2 separate regions of the Homo sapiens genome follow, and region 2 is linked to region 1. Evidence: promoter capture Hi-C in human tissues and cell types (Jung and others, 2019). All regions are on one chromosome and are shown on one strand. The core of a region is centred on a gene start or on the middle of the fragment in contact, and the rest is flanking DNA. Distances in the headings are between cores, read along the strand shown. Region 1 holds the start of OVCH1 (ovochymase 1). Region 2 overlaps LOC105369715 (a long non-coding RNA gene).

What was found. The method cuts DNA at HindIII sites, captures the fragments that hold promoters and counts their contacts. A contact is called where the count stands out against the background at its distance.
Region 2: a fragment that was not itself captured here is called in contact with the fragment with the promoter of OVCH1 in region 1 in 2 of the 25 tissues and cell types used here (IMR-90 fibroblasts and heart left ventricle).

The regions. Positions count from the first base shown.
Region 1 is chr12:29,495,844-29,499,030 of GRCh38, reverse strand. It overlaps OVCH1 (ovochymase 1), which reads left to right and starts at 1,345. Exons shown (of 26, transcript NM_001353179.2): 1 at 1,345-1,408; 2 at 2,357-2,475; 3 at 2,753-2,850. The coding sequence starts at 1,345. The HindIII fragment of the contact is 2,638 bases long and covers 686-3,187 here.
Region 2 is chr12:29,997,478-30,001,059 of GRCh38, reverse strand. All of the region lies in intron 3 of LOC105369715 (a long non-coding RNA gene), which reads left to right. Among named protein-coding and RNA genes, the nearest start is that of TMTC1, 220 kb to the right of the region's middle. The HindIII fragment of the contact is 5,873 bases long and covers 1-3,582 here.

The DNA.
Region 1 (3,187 bases), core at 96-2,595:
TTATTTTCACAGAAGAGCTGCTTACCTTAAGAGCATGCTGGACACCCCCTATCCCCTAGACACCCAGGCATGAAACTAAGGAGTCATCTACTCAAACTGTCATCCGAGGTGTCTTTCCTTGAAATAAATACTCAAAAGAAAATAGTGCTACTCTCAAGAACAGCACAGTCCCATAAAACTATTGGTGATGACAGAATGTTCTGTATTTGTGCTGTTCAATATGGTAGCCACTAGCCACAGAGGGTAAATGGACACCTTTTGAAGATGCCACAGCGACAGGCATCATTCACTTTTTTTAGTCTTTTCTTCAAATGGTGTCCATTTACCCTCTGCTCTCTCCTGCAGTCACAGAGGTCATTGTCCCCAGTAGATTGTCACCTGCTTGTACCTGTGCCTGCATTCTCTCCACCTTGACTGCCTTCTGTTTTCCCATCTACCTGCTCATCTCCCACCTGCCCCCATTAGTTTATGTACCCTCCTACCTCAAGAAGCTTTTATTTCTATTTTACATGAAAGTAAAATAGAGCACTTGAACGTAAAATCCTCCAACTGGTGCTGAAGGACTGGTGGCCAGGTTATTTGATATATATGGAATGTCCACTTAGCCTTGCCTTAATTTTCTGACAAAATATAAGACCATTACAAATTCTGGCTTTGTCTTCTAACTTCAGCTTAACTTATTACAAAATAATATTCATGGGAAAAAAAGTGATATCTCACCACTAGATTAATTTTAATCATCTTAAATGATGGATCCTACAGTTTTGGGGCCATTCTGCTGAAATGGAGGACAGTACTGCCACCCAGAAAATGATGTCAGCTCAAGCCTGATCTTTCCTATTCACTCTTTGAAAACTCTAGAGGGTCAAGGGCAACAAGCTTCTTAGAAGGGGCAGTATTGTACTAAGCTTCCTGACCCTCCGCCTTTCAGAAGTCCTGCCTGTGTTTCGTGTGGGGGACCAGCTTCATTGCCCCTGAGCTTGGACCGCACTCCCCAGTCTGGGAATTCGCAGGGCTAAGCGTTCCAGGCCACTGATTGGCTTGCTGTGGATCTGCTAGCAGGAACCTCTGCACACGTGTGAGCACCACTGTCACCCCTTGGGCCACCTCGTGCCAGTCTCTAAGGCTGGGTGGCGGGGCACTGTGACACCAGGGGTGACCAGAGAGCGGCGGCAGCTCACAATGATCAAATGATCGTGAAGAGGGACACCTGCGAACCAAGGCGCCACGGCAGGTGCTGCCCATAGGCACCGCAGGAGGGGATAAAGGGCGAGACCCCCGCCTTCACCACAGTTTTCTCAGCCTGCAGGGAGGGAGGACGTGCGAGGCCGGTGCGTGGAGGCTATGGGCCTGCTGGCCAGTGCTGGTTTGTTGCTGTTGCTGGTCATCGGCCACCCCAGAAGCCTAGGTGAGCCTAGGGACCTGGGCACCAGGACTGCGGAGGAGGCTGAGCGTGCTGGAGAGGGAAGACTTCATTACTCCTTGCCTCAGGAAGTCGGGGTGGTATAGCCACACCTGAGGCATTTGGGAAGAAAGGGTGAGGGGGTGGTGCATGCTCAGATGTCCCCAAAGGAAGGTCTGGGCCAGACTGCCTTTTTGAAATTTTTTGCATTTTAGAGTTCGTTTGTAGGCACACCTGCTAATCATGTGTGTACTAAGGAGCCTCCTCCAAGGAAACCTAACCAAGTAGAAGTAACTTAAAGACAAATATCTCCCTTCCGGAGTAGTATAGGTCATTCCTCAGTATCTTTTGTTTTGTTTGTTTGTTTGAGACAGGGTCTGGCTCTGTCACCCAGGCTGGACTGCAGTGATGCGATCACGGCTCCCTCAAACTCCAGGGCTAATGTGATCCTCCTGCCTCTGCCTCCTGAGTAGCTGGGACCATAGGCACGTACCACCACACTTGGCTAATTTTTACATTTTTTTGTAGAGATGGGGTCTTGTCATGTTGCCCATGGTTCTGACCTCCTGGGTTCAAGTGATCAGCCTACCTGGGCCTCCCAAAGTGCTGGGATTACAGGCGGGAACCACTGCATGTGGCTCCTGGTATCTTTAACACAACCTAAATTTGCATCTTCCCAGAGTAAGCCCCAAGTCACCTACCAGAGGCAGCGCTGGCTCCTTCCTGCCCAGTGGTAACACAGGCTGAAAGGGAGCAGACAGGAGGCAAATTCCGGTCAACCCAGGTGACTGTGGGATATTCTGAAGAAAATATTGAGAGAAGAATGTGGTAGTCTGCAGCTAAGTGCTATCAGAATGTCTGTGCCAGGCCAGGAAAATCCAAATGGGAAATCTTGGTAAAGTGAACTCTTACATAAGGCTCTGTGTGTGCACACACACATGCTCTTCTACACAGGACTGAAGTGTGGAATTCGCATGGTCAACATGAAAAGTAAGGAACCTGCCGTGGGATCTAGATTCTTCTCTAGAATTAGTAGTTGGAGAAATTCAACAGTGACTGGACATCCATGGCAGGTCAGTGCAACAAAGGCATTGATTTCTTAATGAGAAAACAGTGAAATATTTCCTTTGTTTCGAAAGCAAGAATGCACGTTGATATGTAGTTTTTCTCCTGAACCCCTCTAGCTCTCTACCAAAAAGTTTACTTCGTAGGAACTATCTTACTATCCAATTTATGTCGGTATTTTAAGAATATTATGTCAGATTAGAAAAGTTGATCTCCAGTGTTTCCGATGGAGATACATATGTGGGGAGACATATTAGCTGCATTTGTAACTTTCTTCTTGGGTAGGTCTCCCTAAAATCAGATGAGCACCACTTCTGTGGAGGAAGCTTGATTCAAGAAGATCGGGTTGTTACAGCAGCACACTGCCTGGACAGCCTCAGTGAGTAAGTTGTGGATTTCCATTACTTGTCAGGCCTTGATTCCTGGCTATGCGACTGGCAGATTTGTTGCTCTAAATAGCAGGTTCATTCTCAGTCCCTTTCTTACTTTTGCCTCCCAGTGTACCCACCCACTGATCTTCCTGATTCCCAGAAATGTGTGTCTGTCCCAAGATTCCCAGTGCTTCCTGTTCTACTGAATTAAACAATCCCAGACATCATCTATAATTTATGGATTTAGTGCTTGGGTAGAGGTGGTGGTTACTTACTGTAATAAAGCATTAACAAGAAATGTTAAATGGATGCTCCAAAGTTTTAATCATCTGGGTTTAAATCATTAGGA
Region 2 (3,582 bases), core at 923-3,422, 500 kb before region 1:
GATACAAATGAAGCAAGGTCAGGGTTTGTGAAAGAGCAGGCAAGTCCAACCAAGTCTTCAAGGTTATTTGTGAGCATGAATTAAAATTTGAAGGATGAGTATACCTCAAATTAGACATGATGAACAAAACCCAATAGCTTGCAGTACTATATGTCAGTGATTCCACCCACTTGCATGTTGAGGAGCTACCTGCCAATTTTTTCATGAGCCACTTCAAAAAAGTAGCAGAAGTGTCAACCGTTTGGGTGAAGATGATATTTTGGGTGAAGCCCTACTTCAGTTTCTCTTCTGTTTCAAACTATAAACCCACTCAACCATTCCTGGGACATAAGGCTCCACCAAGGCCTCTCTAATTATGTGAAGTGGTTTTGTTTGGCAATACTAGATGCAATCTTACTGAATACCTTAGCATAAGCCTTTGTGTTGGAGAAAATCCAAGTTTGGGTAAAGTTTCAGCCTTTTCAAATGAGCTTCTTTGAACACACACAAAAAAATCCCACTGTCTGATGCATTTTCAGGAGAGACAGCCACAAGGCCCCCCTTCAACTTTGTGAGTGATGCGCTTCCACTGGCAAGAACTACAAGGACCACAAGAACAGAGTACTTGGCTTTCATCAAGCTGGCTATTGCTAATTATAGATACCATTTATGGGGGCAATTACTGTGTGTGAGCATTGTACTTGATGATTTCTACATATTGTAAATTTAACCTATGAAATCCCATGAAGAATAAGGCAACTAACTTGTTCAAATTAACAAAGCTAGTAAAAAGAGGAGCCAAGGTTTAATCCATATGTTATTTAAAGGTAAAAGATGTTAAACTTCATTACTTATTTTGCTTGGGAAAGGAGGACATTTTCCAACCTAACCTATGCCCAATGTAAGTAAAAGTATATATTTATAATCATAGCTGAAAGGAGCTTTATTTTTTATTAGCAAGAAGCTAGTTTTGTTATCTCCTAGCATCAGTGATGACTGCTGTATCCAGCCAGTTACAGTCATAGTTTATATTCCCTTACGTTTGTTTGGAGTAAAATAAGATGACAGAATTTGAAAATGTTTTTTCTCCAATCTTCAAAATACCAGGTAAACAAAAATAAAACATTTTCATTTTTTCCTCTTTCTTATTAACTATCCTTCCCTCTTGCCTGCCCTTTTCACTTTGCCCCCTCAAATCCAACCAACAGCAATTCCAAACTCTTTCCTCCCATGTAGTTCTCAAAATTATCTACTTTTATATTTCCCACTGTGACTATCTCAGTCTGCGCCAGGGAACAGACTTAGAATCAAACTCCCTGGGTTGGAATTGCAGTTCTACCACTTACCAGCGTGTGACTTCAATCAAATAATTCAGCCTCTCTGTGCTCCATTTTTAATCTGCAATTTGGAAATGATAGTACATAGTTCACAGAGTTATAAAGATAACAGAATGTATAAAAGTACTTAGAATAGGGCAGGGCATGACACATATAAACTGCCATCGTTCTTACCTTATTGTAAAAGGTCTAAGAAACATGGTCTCATTAAATTAACTAATTTGGTAGTTAATTTTACATGTCAACTTGACTAAGCTAAGGGATGTCCAGATAGCTGGCAAAACATTTTTTCTGGGTGTATCTGTGGTGTTTCCAGAAGATATTAGCATTTGAACTTGTGGACTGAGTAAAGCAGATGGCCCTCTACAATGTACATGGGCATTATCCAGTCATTCAAGGGCCTGAATATAAGAAAAAGGCAGAGGAAGGGCAAATTTTCTCTTTCTTCTTGAGCTGGGACATCATCTTCTCCTGCCCTTGGTCGTTGGAGCTCCTGGTTCTTGGACCTTTGGACTCCAAGATTTACACAAGCACATCCCACCTCCACCACCAACCCCAGTTCTCCCTTCAGACCTGGACTGAATTATACCACCAGCTTTCTCCATTTGTAGATGGCAGATCATGGGACTTCTTGGCCTCCTAATCACATGAGCCAATAATCGTATACATATGATTATTTTCATATATATTATATATATACCTATATAGGGAGACAGAGAGAATATATATACTTTATGTTTAAAATTTGTTTCTAGTATTTTCTTCTTGATTTCTGTTATTCCATTCCTTCTCATGCTGCCTCCTCCCCATCACAACAGGCACCATGTATCCTATGACTATGGAGAATACCTCATTTTCTGCACTAACCTAGCCCTATGACTCCCCAAACCTGATGCAATGCTCCTCCTTGATTTTAGTGTTAATAGCAGTTTGTGTCCTGAATCTTCCCTGATGACCATCCTCTCCCTATTCCATAAAATAACACCTACCAGTTCTGATCCTTCCTTCCTCAGATCCTCAATAGCTGATAACAGTTAATACGAAATAATCATTCATTCATAAAGGAAATATTATTTGCTGAACTCACACGAAGTGCCAGGCGCTGTGCTAGGTGTCAGAGATAGGACAGTGAAGAAGACAGAGATCATGACCCCAAGGAACTTCCATTCCGCTGAGGGAAATCAGTGAACCAGTGATTTGGATATGGTGTGTAGGGACTCTAACTGGGGTAAGGATGGGAACCTATGGGAGCAAAGGGGACAGCCTCAAAGAGGTGAAACTAGAGATTGAAGACCATGAGAGATGGCAGGAGGGGCATTTTTGGAAGTGCAAATCCCAAGGCTTGATACCCAGGAAAAGGCAAACAGGGCCCTTCAAGCTGAAGCAGCTGCAAATGACCAAAAGACCTCCCTTGTGTTGCCTTCAAGAATGATGGCCTCAGCATGGAGGTGCAGACAGAGAAAGTTCTAACCTCCTATTTCTGTGTCCTTGCTGATGGAAAATTCCACAGGAAACAGGACAAAATGAAACACATGCTTCTGTGAGACTTGAGAAAGGTCTGGAGAAGGGGAGTTCCTCTACTCGAGGAAAGCTTCACATCCCCCTCCTGCCAGCAGCAACCTCTGGCAGCATTTGGGTGGCTGCACCTCCTGCACCTCATTAGAGAACATTATGCTCTTCCTGGTAATTAAGGGCAGGGGCTGTAACATTCATCAGATTGAGTTTCATATCCTGGCCTCTCACTTGCTGGATTGTGGCCTTGAATAAATCATCCAACCTCTTAGAGAAAAGCCTTCCTTTCCTTACCTGTGAGTCCAAGGACAATCCTACTTGCATTTATATGAGTGATTGGCACAGTGCTTGGCATGTCGGAAGTGATAACGAAAGGTGGCAATATTCGATTCTCCAAGTAAAGCTTATCAATAGTCCACTATCAGCACAATCTGTGCTGTGACTAGCAAAGTTTTGTCTAAACAAAGATGCAGAACTGGGCACTATATGATAGCACAATAGCATGACTATAGTCAATAATAACTTATTTGTGTATTTTAAAATAAAATAAGGTAATTAGATTGTTTGTAACTCGAAGGATAAATGCTTGCTGGGACAAATACCCCCATTCTCCATGATGTGCTTATTTTACATTGCATGCCTGTATCAAACATCTCATGTACTTCATAAATGTATACACCTACTATGTACCCACAACATTTTTAAGTCTAATATTAAAAAATTAAAATAAAGAAAATCAAGGAAGTAAACATGC